Regions from separate parts of the Homo sapiens genome. Here region 1 is linked to region 2. Evidence: promoter capture Hi-C in human tissues and cell types (Jung and others, 2019). All regions are on one chromosome and are shown on one strand. The core of a region is centred on a gene start or on the middle of the fragment in contact, and the rest is flanking DNA. Distances in the headings are between cores, read along the strand shown.

Region 1 (6,531 bases), core at 3,258-5,757, 35 kb after region 2:
TTCCCTTCCTGTCCCTCCCTTCCCCCTCCCCTGTCCCTCCCCTCCTTCTCCCCTCCCCTCCACTCTCCTCTCCTGCCCTTTCCTTTTGAGATAGGGTCTTGCTCTGCTACCCAGGCTGGAGTGCAATGGCATGACCATGGCTTACTGCAGCTTCAACCTCCTGGGCTCAAATGATCCTCCCACCTCAGCCTCCTGAGTTGCTGGGACTACAAGCACATGCCACCACCCCAGGCTAATTTTTAAAATTTTTGTAGAGATGGGGTCTCACTATGTTGCCCTGGCTAATCTTGAACTCCTGGGCTCAAGTGGTCCTCCCACCTCAGCCTCCCAAAGTGCTGGGATTACAGATGTGATCCACTGCACTGTTAATTTCTAATTTTACTCCATTGTGATTAGAGAACATACTTTGTATAATTTCAATCCTTTGAGAAATTACTGAAATTCTTTTTATGACCTAACATATGATCTGTACTGGAGAATGTCCCATGTGTACTTGAGACGAATGTATATTCTGCTGTTGTTAAGTGGAGTGTTCCAGGTATGCGTCAGGTCTAGTTGGTTTATAGTATTATTCAAGCCTTCTGTTTTCTTGTTGATCTGCCTAGTTGTTATATCTTTTGTTGAAAGTGAGGCATTGAAGGCTCCAACTATTATTGTCGAATTATCTACTTATCTCTTTAATTTTTTAAAGTTTTTGCTTTATATGTTTTGGACCTCTCTTATTAGGTGCATATTTATTTGACTGACTAATAAAATTGTATATATTTATCATGTACAACATGTTTTGAAATATGTATACATTATTGAATCACTGAGTCAAGCTAATTAACATATGTATTACTCACATACTTATTTTTGTGGTGAGAACATTAAAATCTACTCTCTCAGCAATTTTAAAGGATACAATACATTGTTGTTAACCATAATCACCATGTTGTACAACAGAGCTCTTGAATTTATTTCTTCTATTGAACTGTAATTGTATACCCTTTGACTAACATTTCCCCAACTGTTCCCCTACCCTAGCACTTGGTAACAGTCATTCTACTCTTAATTCTATGAGCTCAACTTTTTTAGATTCCACATATAAGTGAGATCGTTTAGTGTTTGTCTTTCTGTGCCTGGCTTATTTCAATGAAATAAGTCCTATTTCATTGGACTTTTCATAGTGTCCTCCAAATTCATCCATGTTGTTACAAATGACAATATTTCCTTCTTTTTAAGGCTGAATAGTATTCCAATATGTATAAGTACCACATTTTCATTATCCATTTATCTGTTGATGGACAATTAGGTTGATTCCATATCTTTGCTATTGTGAATAATGCTGCAATGAACATGGAATATATAAATGTTAGGCCTTCCTGATGGATTGACTGATTTTTAATTGACAAATAAAAATTGTATATATGTATGGTGCTATGAAAGGAAAATAAATCTTGGGGCCCCCAAATCACTAAACTAAAGGGAAAAGTCAAGCTGGGAACTGCTTAGGGCAAACTTGCCTCCCATTGTATTCAAATCATCCGTCTGCTCACTGAGATAAATGCATATCTGATTGCCTCCTTTCGAGAGGCTAATCAGAAACTCAAAAGAATGCAACTGTTTGTCTCTCACCTACCTGTGACCTGGAAGTCCCCTCCCTGCTTCGAGTTGCCCTGCCTTTCTGGATGGAACCAATGTGCATTTTATATATATTGATTGAGGTCTCATGTCTCCCTAAAATATATAAAACCAAGCTATGCCCCAACCACCTTAGCCACATGTCAGGACCTCCTGAGGCTGTGCCATGGGCACATGTTCTCAACCTTGGCAAAATAAACTTTTTAAATTAACTAAGACCTGTCTCAGATATTTGGGGTTAACATTTATGGTAACCACAAAGGAATTCTGAGTGGAGATGCCCCTGACCTTTGACAAATCTCCTATTGGTGCTTGGTATCAGCTTGAGCTATCTTTATGGCTCAAACCAATAGGACAATTTGCTGAGGCCTGGAAGTGTTATGAGATCTTTGGGGTGTTGATTTTTCTTTCCAGAAACCTCTGTGGCTGGTGACGCTTTTGCCCGAGTTTTTGTCCTGCATCCAGGAAGAATGAGGTATGCAGAGAAGTGAATGGTGATGAAGATGAAGAAGAATTTTATTTAGTGTTAGAATGGCTCAGAAGAGACCGGAAGTGGGTAGCTCCTCTCTGTAGGCAGGTCATCCCATGGAGTGTTCAGCTGTCAGCAAAGAGGAGGCCCTGGAGGGGGTAGCTCTTCTCTGCCCACTGGTCATCCTGCTGTCTGCTGTTCTCAGCAGAGAGGAGGCTCTGAAGAGGGTGGCTCCTCTTTGTAGGCAGGTTGTTCAGATGTCTCTGCAGGCCTCTGAAGCTCTCAGCAAAGAGGATAGCTCCTCTCTGCAGGTAGTTATCCCCTTCCTCTCTCTGTCCTCTGGTCTTTGCCCTGCTGTGGCCGAGCCCAGGGCTTTTATGGACCTGAGCGGGGAGGAAATGCATGCCAATTGGTGGATGCGCAGCCATGGGCAGGCCCAGAGGAGGCGCTTCAAGTCCCTACTCTGGTCTGTGTGACTGGCAGCCTGCCCCCAGCTGTCAGGCCCTCCCTGGTCTGAAGGTGGGACCTTACTGGGGATCCGCCTGCTTCTGCCCAGGACTCTGCCTCCCGCTGCCATTCAAGGCCCCAGGGCTCTGCTCCAACCCTGCTCCAAGACCAGTGCCCTCCCCAGGAGAGGAGAGAGGCCAGGCAATGGGAGTAAACACCCGCCAAGACAGCAGGGAGCACAGGAGGGTGGGCCTCCTTCCTGATCCATAGAACAGGAAGGCCTAGGTCTGCAGTTTGGGTGGCTGCAGCGGCACCCAAGGAGCTCCTGCCCCAACTCAGAAGGAGCGGGGTTCCCATGGGCTCCATGGAGTGTGCAGCCCCAGCCAGCCTCCCTCCTGCAGCCACTTAGAAGCACCTCCTCCAGAGAATCCCTGATCTCCCAAAATTTGGTCAAGATCTAAACTTTATTTTTCTGTACAACTCCTTTTTTTTTTTTTTTTTTTTTTGGAGTTTTACTTGCTTTTAACACAAGGAAGGCAAGTTTTTCCTGTTTCCATGACAATGGACGGCAGGTAATTCCTTTATGGAGTTTGAACTCGCTCCCAACAGGGAAGACGAGTTTGAGTTTTTCCTGCTTCTAGGATGGTAGAGAGCAGGCTTTGGCCTGAGACCCATCCCTACGTAAATAACTGAATTGGGGTTTGCCTTGGCTAAAGTTAAAATTAACAACCAGCTGGTCTTAATTTCTCCTTACCATTAGAGCGCTCAGCAATCATGTAAGTTGTGCAATCGTTTGTTTCGCTTAACTTTTTCTGTTGTTTGTTTGTTTTTTTGTTTCTTTTGTTGTTGTTTCAGTCTTTTTCCTATCAGGTTTGACCAACTCTATCCAACTTGATCATATCTGAAGGAAAGTTCCAAATTATGGGGAACAAGGCCTTTGAAGTGGCTAAATTCCCCCACCCACAATAAAAGGTGGTGTGGTGGGGGGAGAAAAGTGGCCAGCAAAAGGGGAAAAAAGGGAAAGATTTTTTAATTTTGACTACTTAAGGCTTTCTTTATTTACATAACAAGGCCTAAAGGAAATGTTTTCTTCCAACATAATATTCTGTGCACTGCAGAAGGTCTTTTCTTTGGCCTTTTGATAACTGGCCTAACAGATTTCATGTCTTATCAAATAATTCTTATCCCATTATTATTAAGTTTTGGTTTGCTTAGAAAAAACAGATCAAAAATTTTTTTCAATTAAGGTTATTACCTCCATGTATTTTTCTGTATGTGCTTTTAAAGTCCTTGTAACATTGAGTTGCTGGGCTTTGACTCCTGGGTCTAAAAAGGACACCAAATCCTGCTAACTCTTAAACACTGACAGCAATTAAAGCTTCGTATTCAGGTCTGATAGAAGATGCCAATCAAAATAAACTGCATTCCTAAGACACAGGGCCAGAAATTAAAGCTATTCAACTCCTCAAGGTCCAGGGAGTATCACAGAAGAGGCAGGTGCATGAGATTGTAAGGGCCAATTTTGAGAGATAAAGGAAGTTCAGTTTCTCTATAAATTAACCATTAATGTCAAAGGCATACTGATGCAAGACCAGCACATGAGGCCCTGTGTCAGATTAACAAGGTTTTCTTGAAGTATTAACCAACTCCTTATTAAAGGTTATAAAGGCTATAAAAAGACTTATGGAAGTTATATGTTATGGTCAAAATTAACATTTTAGAGATTGTTTAAAAATTTTGAAAAACAAATTTAATTGGCTTCATGCTATTTTTATTAGGGCTTATTGTTTGGAAAATTAAGTCTCCTCTCTCAAAGAATGAAGGTTGTCACCTTTTTAGAAAACCCTTGAGTTATCACTTTGGTTAAATGAATCACTTATTTTACAATGAACTGTGATCCTATTTTGTGATATCAAGTGTTTTAAACCTTTGATATTTGACAAACTTTTCAAAATAAAATTACACGTCTTTTTATGACCTAATTAATCTTTTTAGATATTAGGTTCCCTAAAGCCCAAAAATGACATATTTGGCCTATTTGGTATAAAAATTATACAGGAAGCATTGTCAAACATGAAATGGTTTGGTTTTCTTTGGGCTATATTTGTATAAATATGTTATTGGTATGTGTTCCAAAATTATGGGAACTCCTATAATTCTGATATGACTTAGTGTACATAGTTAGTAGTAATAATAATAATTGTTATGTTAAATTTTTGTGTGCCACAGAGGTAACAGATTTCCTTGTCAATTGTGTCTTTGACTATAGCTGCCCTAAAACATTTTGTCATCCATGGACAATTGTTGTCTTGTTTTGGTTCTCTTTAGAAGGTGGTTTTATAATCTACTATAAAACTCTAATAGGGGCTCCTGAATGGAGGTTTCTGATAATTTTGGAGATGGTGACATCAGAATAGAGGAAAAACTTTCAGGACTCATGGAGAGCTGAAATGTTCATGAATTTCAAGCAGAACAGGAATTAACTACAAAGACTGAAATAATAGATGACTGAAGTAATCTTTTTGACTTTTTGCTTAAAATGTTACTGATCTTTCAATTTTCAGAGTCAAGGAAACTTTTCTTTTGTGCTATTGACAGCTTTTAACAACTAAGTATACTCCTACCAACAAAATTTGGAGTATATTTGTTTCTCTCCACCTGATTTCTCCAGAATTTGGAAACTATTTTAAGTATTCTTAACTTACGGCTATATAGTTATTTGCATAAGTGCAATAAGAATCTGTTTTCATTTGTAACAGGACATGACTGGAGCAACTGGTTATTTTACCAAGTTTTGACTGGAATGGTTTACTTTCCTTTAAGGAATCAAAGTTGTCTTTTAGAGCCAATAAAAGCCCCTTGGGAAAACTGGCCTCATACCTTATCTACACAGTCCCTGTACACGGTTCTTGACCTGTGATAAGAAATGAATGTCACTTTCTGACTGGCCTGGGAACCCCAAGTTATCTTGAGACCTCAAGGGGAGAGGAATTCACCCAACTCATAGGTATTTGATGGTACAAATCCATGGCTGGGCTTGGCTTTAAAAAAGTCATATCTGAGATTCCTTCTATGGAACAAAGTTCCATCAAAGCCAATTTAAAAAGCCTATGTGAAGAATAATTATTCTAGCTGCACTTTATACAAATAATTTGGCCAAGTATAATAAAGCAAATTGGTCCTACCATGATTTGTCATGATTTTTAGTAAAAATGGGAAACTGGAGAGAGAAAAATTGTTTCAAAAACTAAAGTACACCTGTTGTTAGATTCTAGTCTTGCCTAATGTTTTTCTGTTTTTATTATTTTCTACAGACTGGACTGAATTCTAACTTTTCCTGGCTACAAGTCTCCAAAATAATGTTTTCATTTTTTTCTTTCTTTTCCTTTTCCCTACATTTTTCCTAATTTGAAATCACTGAAAACTAAGCTATGCTTTCTTAAAGCCCTGCAAACTGAAACTAGACAACTTAAACTTCAAAAGAAAATAACAGCAACCTTTTACATACATAAGCCACTTTTATACCTGCCTACTGATGTATGGACTACAGAGTAAGGTGGTCTATATCAGTTTTGCAGGATTGTTCTTTTGTTTGTTGTTGTTTTTCTCCCTTCTTTCTCCTATTTTCTCTTCATAGGACATAAGACTTCAGAACCTGCTAAAAATGAGCTTTCCTAATAACTTGGAACTTATCTGTCTAGGAATAAACTGTCTTAGCTGTGAGACAGCAGATGAAACCTGAGACCAGGGACTCATTTTCTTCCGATAATGCTTTCTCCAAAAGATTTTAGAAACAAAAGGGGGGAAATGTGAAAGGAAAATAAATCTTATGACCCCAAAATCACTAAGCTAAAGGGAAAAGTCAAGCTGGGAACTACTTAGGGCAAACCTGCCTCCCGCTCTATTCAAAGTCACCCCTCTGCTCACTGAGATAAATGCATACCTGAATGCCTCCTTTGGAGAGGCTAATCAGAAACTCAAAAGAATGCAAC
Region 2 (5,823 bases), core at 129-2,628:
CCTTGGACAAGGGGGAACTACTGTATATCTAAGCATGATGGCCCCATACCAGTCCCAGAGCCAGGCCTGGGGAACATCAAGAGAGTCGCTTTGCCTCTGGCCTGAGCCTACCTGGAATCCTGTGGACTAGGTCTGTCTCCTCCACCCGAAGACTTTTGGGATGGAGCCAGCATTGATTTTGGAGTCAGATACATGTGGCTTTCCCACTATTTAGCTATTTGACCTTAGGCGCATTAATCAGAGCCTCCCTGAGCCTCAGATTCCATATCCTGAAATGGGAATAACAAAACCTGCCCCAGGTTGAGTTAAGGACTTAAATACCATCGGGAGCTGGTACTGCACAGAAGCGTGCAGCTCAGCACACAGTCTGGTCCAAAGTGCTGGTCCCTTTTCCTTGGCAAAACTGGCTCATGCCTTTCATTTCACTCTTTTGGAGTCCCAAGCCAGCGTGTAGGACAAGAATATAAGGGAAGGTCTGAGAGGTTGGAGGACACAGTCCACCCCAGACATGGCCCAGGCAAGGCCAGGGCGGCACCAGGAAACCCAAGCTAGTGAGAAGAGTTACTGATCTGTGCCTCTTTGAAGCAGAAGTGAGGTGGGATGGGGAGGTGGGAACAGGTTGAGCCCATTATCCAAACAGAAACGGAGAGTGGTTGCAAAGAGGGAGAGGCCGATAAGTGAAGAGGAAGGAAAGCCGAGGCGTATGGGGGGCTGGGGACAGAAACGGGAATCCAGGTTGTCGGAGGGCAGGGGCTGCAGAAGGAACACGCTGGAAGGAGGGGTGCTGGGGAAATGGGAGAGCTGGCACGGAGGCGGGCCAGGCGGTAAGGGTGGAAAGGAAGAGCAAGTTCCTGGAGAGAGGAAGGAGGGGTTGGAGGGGACGACAGTGACCTGTTGCCTGGAGAGAAGAGAGGGAAAGCGAGGGAAGGGAGGGCAGAAGCTGTCACCTTGGGTCCTGCTAGAGGGCAAGTGAACGGGGCTCGCCCGGGAGTGGAAGGCTGACGGAGGCCTGGGTTGGGGTGGGGGGCCCCGGCCCGGCTGTACCTGCTGCTCCCCGCGGAGCTCTCCCACGTAGTACTGCTCCAGCCAGCGGCGCGCGTTGGCCGAGTGCCTGTGCGGCGGCCCGTCCAGGTCGGCGCTGATGTCCTGGCCCGCCCTGGCCCGCAGCAGCTGCTCGCCCCCCGGGTGGTGCCGCACGAAGCTGGAGAGGTCGTAGAGGCGGGCCCCGCGGCGGACCCAGCACGCGCCGGCCGCCAGGCGCCGCTGGACCTCGGAGGGCGAGAAGGAGGCGGCGGGGGGCGGAGCGGGGGCCATGGCCGGAGACCGCAGCTCCCAGCGCGCAGCCCGGCGTCTGCTCTGCTGCCACCCTGAGCGCCTCTAACATCCCGGGAGCCCCGCGGCCGTTCCGGGCGGGCCGCCACCGCACCTGCTCATTTGCATACCGCGCTCCCATTGGCCGGCCGGGAGCCCCGGCAGAGCCGCGAGGGGCGGGCCCGGCGCCGGGAGCTGCGCGCCAGGTGGCCGCGGACAGGGAGTGCCGCGCCCGCCAGGTGTGTCCCGCGCGGGAGGAGGGTGGGCGGACACAGGCGGAGCGAGTCTCCCCGTCGCGGGTGGTTGTCTGGGCGGACATCCTCGGTGGCCTGATCGCTGCTGGAATAACTTCAACTGCTTCCACGGAGGAGCTGGCCGCATGGGACCCTCTGGCTCCAGGAGGTGCCCGAGAGAGCGAGAGGCGAATGAGGTGCTCGCCTCGGGTGCAAATATTTGTTTGTTTTTAAAATTTCAGTAGCTTTTGGGGTACCAGTGGTTTTTGGTTACATGGAGGAATTGTATAGTGGTAAGTCCTGAGATTTTAGTCCACCTGTCCCCCGAGTAGTGTACATTATACCCAATGTGTAGGGTTTTGTGTGTGTGTGTGTGTTACACCCCCTCCCATTCTCCCTATTGTCCATTATATCACTCTGTATGCCTTTGCGTCCTCATAGCTTAGTTCCTACTTATGAGTGAGAACATACAGTGTTTGGTTTTCCATTCCTGAATCACTTTCACTTAGAATAATGGCCTCCAGCTCCATGCAAGTTGCTGCAAAAGACTTCATTTCGTTCCTTTTTATGGCTGAGTAGTATTCTATCGTGTATATCAACTACATTTTCTTTATCCACTCATTGGTTGATGGTTATTTAAGTTGGTTCCATATCTTTTCGATTGTGAATTGGGCTGCAAAAAACAAACATTCGTGTGCAAGTGTCTTTTTCATATAATGACTCTTTTCCTTTGGGTAGATACCCAGTGGTGGGATTGCTGGACCGAATGGTGAATCTACTTTTTCTCTCCTCCCCTCCCCTCCCCTCCCCTTCCCTTCCTTTCCCTTCCCTTCCCGTGACAAGGTCTCACTCTGTCACCCAGGCTGGAGAGTAGTGGTGCGATCTTGGTTCACTGCAGCCTCGACCTCCCGGGCTCAAGCAATCCTCTTACCTCAGCCTCCCAAGTAGCTGGCACTACAGGCATGCACCACTACGCCTGGCTAATTTTTGTATTTTTTGTAGAGACGAGGTTTCACCATGCTGCCCAGGATGGTCTCAAACTCCTGGGCTCAAGCGATTTGCCTGCCATGGCCTCCCATAGTGCACTTTTTTTTTTTTTTTTTGAGACAGAGTCTCACTCTGTTGCCCAGGCTGAAGTGCAGTGGCACAATCTCAGCTCACTGCTACCTCCGCCTCCCGGGTTCAAGCGATTCTCCTGCCTCAGCCTCCAGAGTAGCTATGACTATAGGCGCGTGCCACCACGCCCGGCTAATTTTTTTGTATTTTTAGTAGAGACGGGGTTTCACCATGTTGGCCAGGTTGGTCTCGAACTCCTGGCCTCTAGTGATCCTCCCGCCGCAGCCTCCCAAAATGCTGGGATTACAGGCGTGAGCCACCGCGCCCAGCCCCAAAGTGTACTTTTAGTTTGTTAAAGAATCTCTGTACTGTTTTCCAAACAAGTTGTACTAATTTACATTCCCACCAGCAGTGCATAGCATAAGCATCCCCCTTTCACTACATACACGCAGACATCTACTGTTTCTTGACTTTTTAATAATGTTCGAGGGCAAAATTTAATGGGGCACCCCAAAACTCAGTCATCACTATATCTAATACCTGAACGTAATATTTAAAAAATTATATTGTTGGCTGGGTGCGGTAACTCACACCTGTAATCCCAGCACTTTGGGAGGCCGAGGTGGGCGAATCACGAGGTCAAGAGATCGAGACCATCTTGGCCAACATAGTGAAACCCCATCTCTACTAAAAATACAAAAATTAGCTGGCTGTGGAGGCACGCATCTGTAGTCCTAGCTACTTGGGAGGCTGAGGCAGGGGAATCGCTTGAATCTGGGAGTTGGAGGTTGCAGTGAGCCGAGAACGCCCCACCACACTCCAGCCTGGCGAGAAAGAGAGACTCTGTCTCAAAAAAAAAATTATTTTGTTGCACAATGTGAATGTTCTTAATGCCACTGAACTGTACACTGAAAATGGTTGGAATGGTAAATTTATATTATGTATATTTTACCGCAATACAAAATATTTAAGAATGTTTTAAAAAATCACATTGTCAAAAGACAGGGGTGAGGGGTGGGGTTGGGGGCGTGGCATTGGCCACCTGTTTTTGTAAATAAAGTTTTATTGGAACCAGGGCCAGGGATTCCTGAGACAGGGATGTGAAAGTGCAGGGTTAGCTCCTGTTTTTATTTAAAATTTTGATATTTTGTCCATCATGGATTTTTTTGCATTAATCTTGAAGTTTTACAATACTGCATTAAAATATTATTTATCTTGGTTACTTTTTTTTGTTTGTTTTTTGGCATGCCTGTAGATTTTGCTCTCAGGGTTAGTGCCTCACTCCCTCACTCTAATCCTGGGCCCTGGGGAAGGACCTGAGGGGAGAACAGAGAACACTGTCTCCATTACAGAAGGGGAAGTAGGGGCCTACAGGAGTAAAGGCTGGGGGTGATGCTGTGTGGAAAGGAGGACTGAATTTGTTCATCACAGTTTTGTTTAGAACAGGAAAAACTTGGTTGGACATGGTGGCTCATGCCTGTAATCCCAACCCTTTGGGAGGCCAAGGCAGGAGGATCGCTTGAGCCCAGGAGTTCAAGACCAGCCTGGGCAACAAAGCAATACCTCGTCTCTACAAAAAAATTTTTTTTTTAAATTGAGGCCAGGCCGGGCGCGGTGGCTCATGCCTGTAGTCCCAGCACTTTGGGAGGCCGAGGTGGGCGGATCACCTGAGGTCGGGAGTTTGAGACCAGCCTGACCAACATGGAGAAACTCTATCTCTACTAAAAATAAAAAATTAGCCAGGCATGGTGGTGCCTGCCTGTAATCTCAGCTACTCAGGAAGGCTGAGGCAGGAGAATCATTTGAACCCGGGAGGCAGAGGTTGCAGTGAGATTGTGCCATTGCACTCCAGCCTGGGCAACAAGAGCGAAACTCTGTCTCAAAAAAAAAAAAAAAAAAAATTGAGGCCAGGTGCGGTGGCTCACACCTGTAATCCTAGCACTTTGGGAGGCCAAGGCAGGCAGATCCCCTGAGGTCAGGAGTTTGAGACCAGCCTGGCGAACATGGTGAAACCCTGTCTCTACTAAAAATACAAGAAAATTAGTCGGGCGCAGTGGCATGCCCCTGTAGTCCCAGCTACTTAGAAGACTGAGGCTGGAGAATCGCTTGAACCCAGGCGTCAGATGTTGCAGTGAGTGGAGATTGCACCACTGCACTCCAGCCTGTGTGACAGAGCGAGGCTCCATCTCAAAAATAATTGGATAAATAAATAATTTAAAAAATTAGCCAGTTGTAGTGATGCAGGCTTATCGTCCCAGCTACTGGGGAGGCTGAGGCCAAAGGATCTCTTGAGTCCAGGAGTTTGAGGCTGCAGTATCCTATGACTGCACCACTGCACTCCAGCCTGGGCAACAGAGTGAGCTCCATCTCTTAAACAGAAAACAAAAAGCAGAAAAGCCACACCCAGCTTTACTTGCTCAGCCACAGGGGATCCCACTTGAACTCATGATTTGTAATCAAATGCTCCTGGTACAGAGGCTAACCCATCCAGCTGGCTTTGTCTCTTTCAGGAAAGATATTTTAAGGATCATCTCCATTTGTGCCCTTCTGGGGCCAGGCATCTGTGCTGGGCCAGTTCAAGTATGGGAAGCCTGGCCCAGATGCCTCAGGGGTCCCCAGGTCAGAAGAGCCGCCCCTCTTCCCTCTCCCTTCTCTTCGGACTGACCCTCAGGGAGTAGGCGAGAGTTTTGCTGTCTGTGGGTCTATGGAGCACCTGTCCGTCAGGCCTAGAGGCCTCACATCAACAGAGTTGTTGCTTTTCTCAAGCGGTGAATGCATAAGTAGTCACCTTTACCCAACTTCCACACCTACTCTGCTGCAAATCCCGTTCATGTGCCAAAGCAGCCAAGCGCACAGTCGCAGGTGTACTCAGGCACTTCTTGCTGACAGTATCTGTGGGCACTCCCATTTGGATTTCTCACCATGGCTGTGAACTCCCAGTGTTTACAGTTGAACAAATGATTTGGCCATCTGTTCAGAATTGTAACACTCACAGTTCTTGCCCTAGTTATTTCCACTTCTAGAAATTTAATCTTACAGATATACTATATCAAGATGCATGAACAATAACATTAATTGCAACCTCATTTATAGACTAGAAATGATCAAATGTTCATCATGAGGGAGGACTGATTAAATAAACTATGGTATATTCAGACAGTGAAATACTATGTAGCCATTAGAAAAAATGAGGTAGATCTATGTGTACTAATTTAGAATAATC

The links. The method cuts DNA at HindIII sites, captures the fragments that hold promoters and counts their contacts. A contact is called where the count stands out against the background at its distance.
Region 1: a fragment that was not itself captured here is called in contact with the fragment with the promoter of FA2H in region 2 in 1 of the 25 tissues and cell types used here (IMR-90 fibroblasts).

What each region holds. Positions count from the first base shown.
Region 1 is chr16:74,804,910-74,811,440 of GRCh38, forward strand. No RefSeq gene overlaps it. Among named protein-coding and RNA genes, the nearest start is that of FA2H, 33 kb to the left of the region's middle. The HindIII fragment of the contact is 7,167 bases long and covers 925-6,531 here.
Region 2 is chr16:74,773,442-74,779,264 of GRCh38, forward strand. FA2H (fatty acid 2-hydroxylase) reads right to left here and starts at 1,379. Exons shown (of 7, transcript NM_024306.5): 1 at 1,045-1,379. The coding sequence starts at 1,314. RefSeq lists silencers at 1,016-1,065, 1,106-1,475, 1,486-1,615, 1,626-1,685. The HindIII fragment of the contact is 21,235 bases long and covers 1-5,823 here.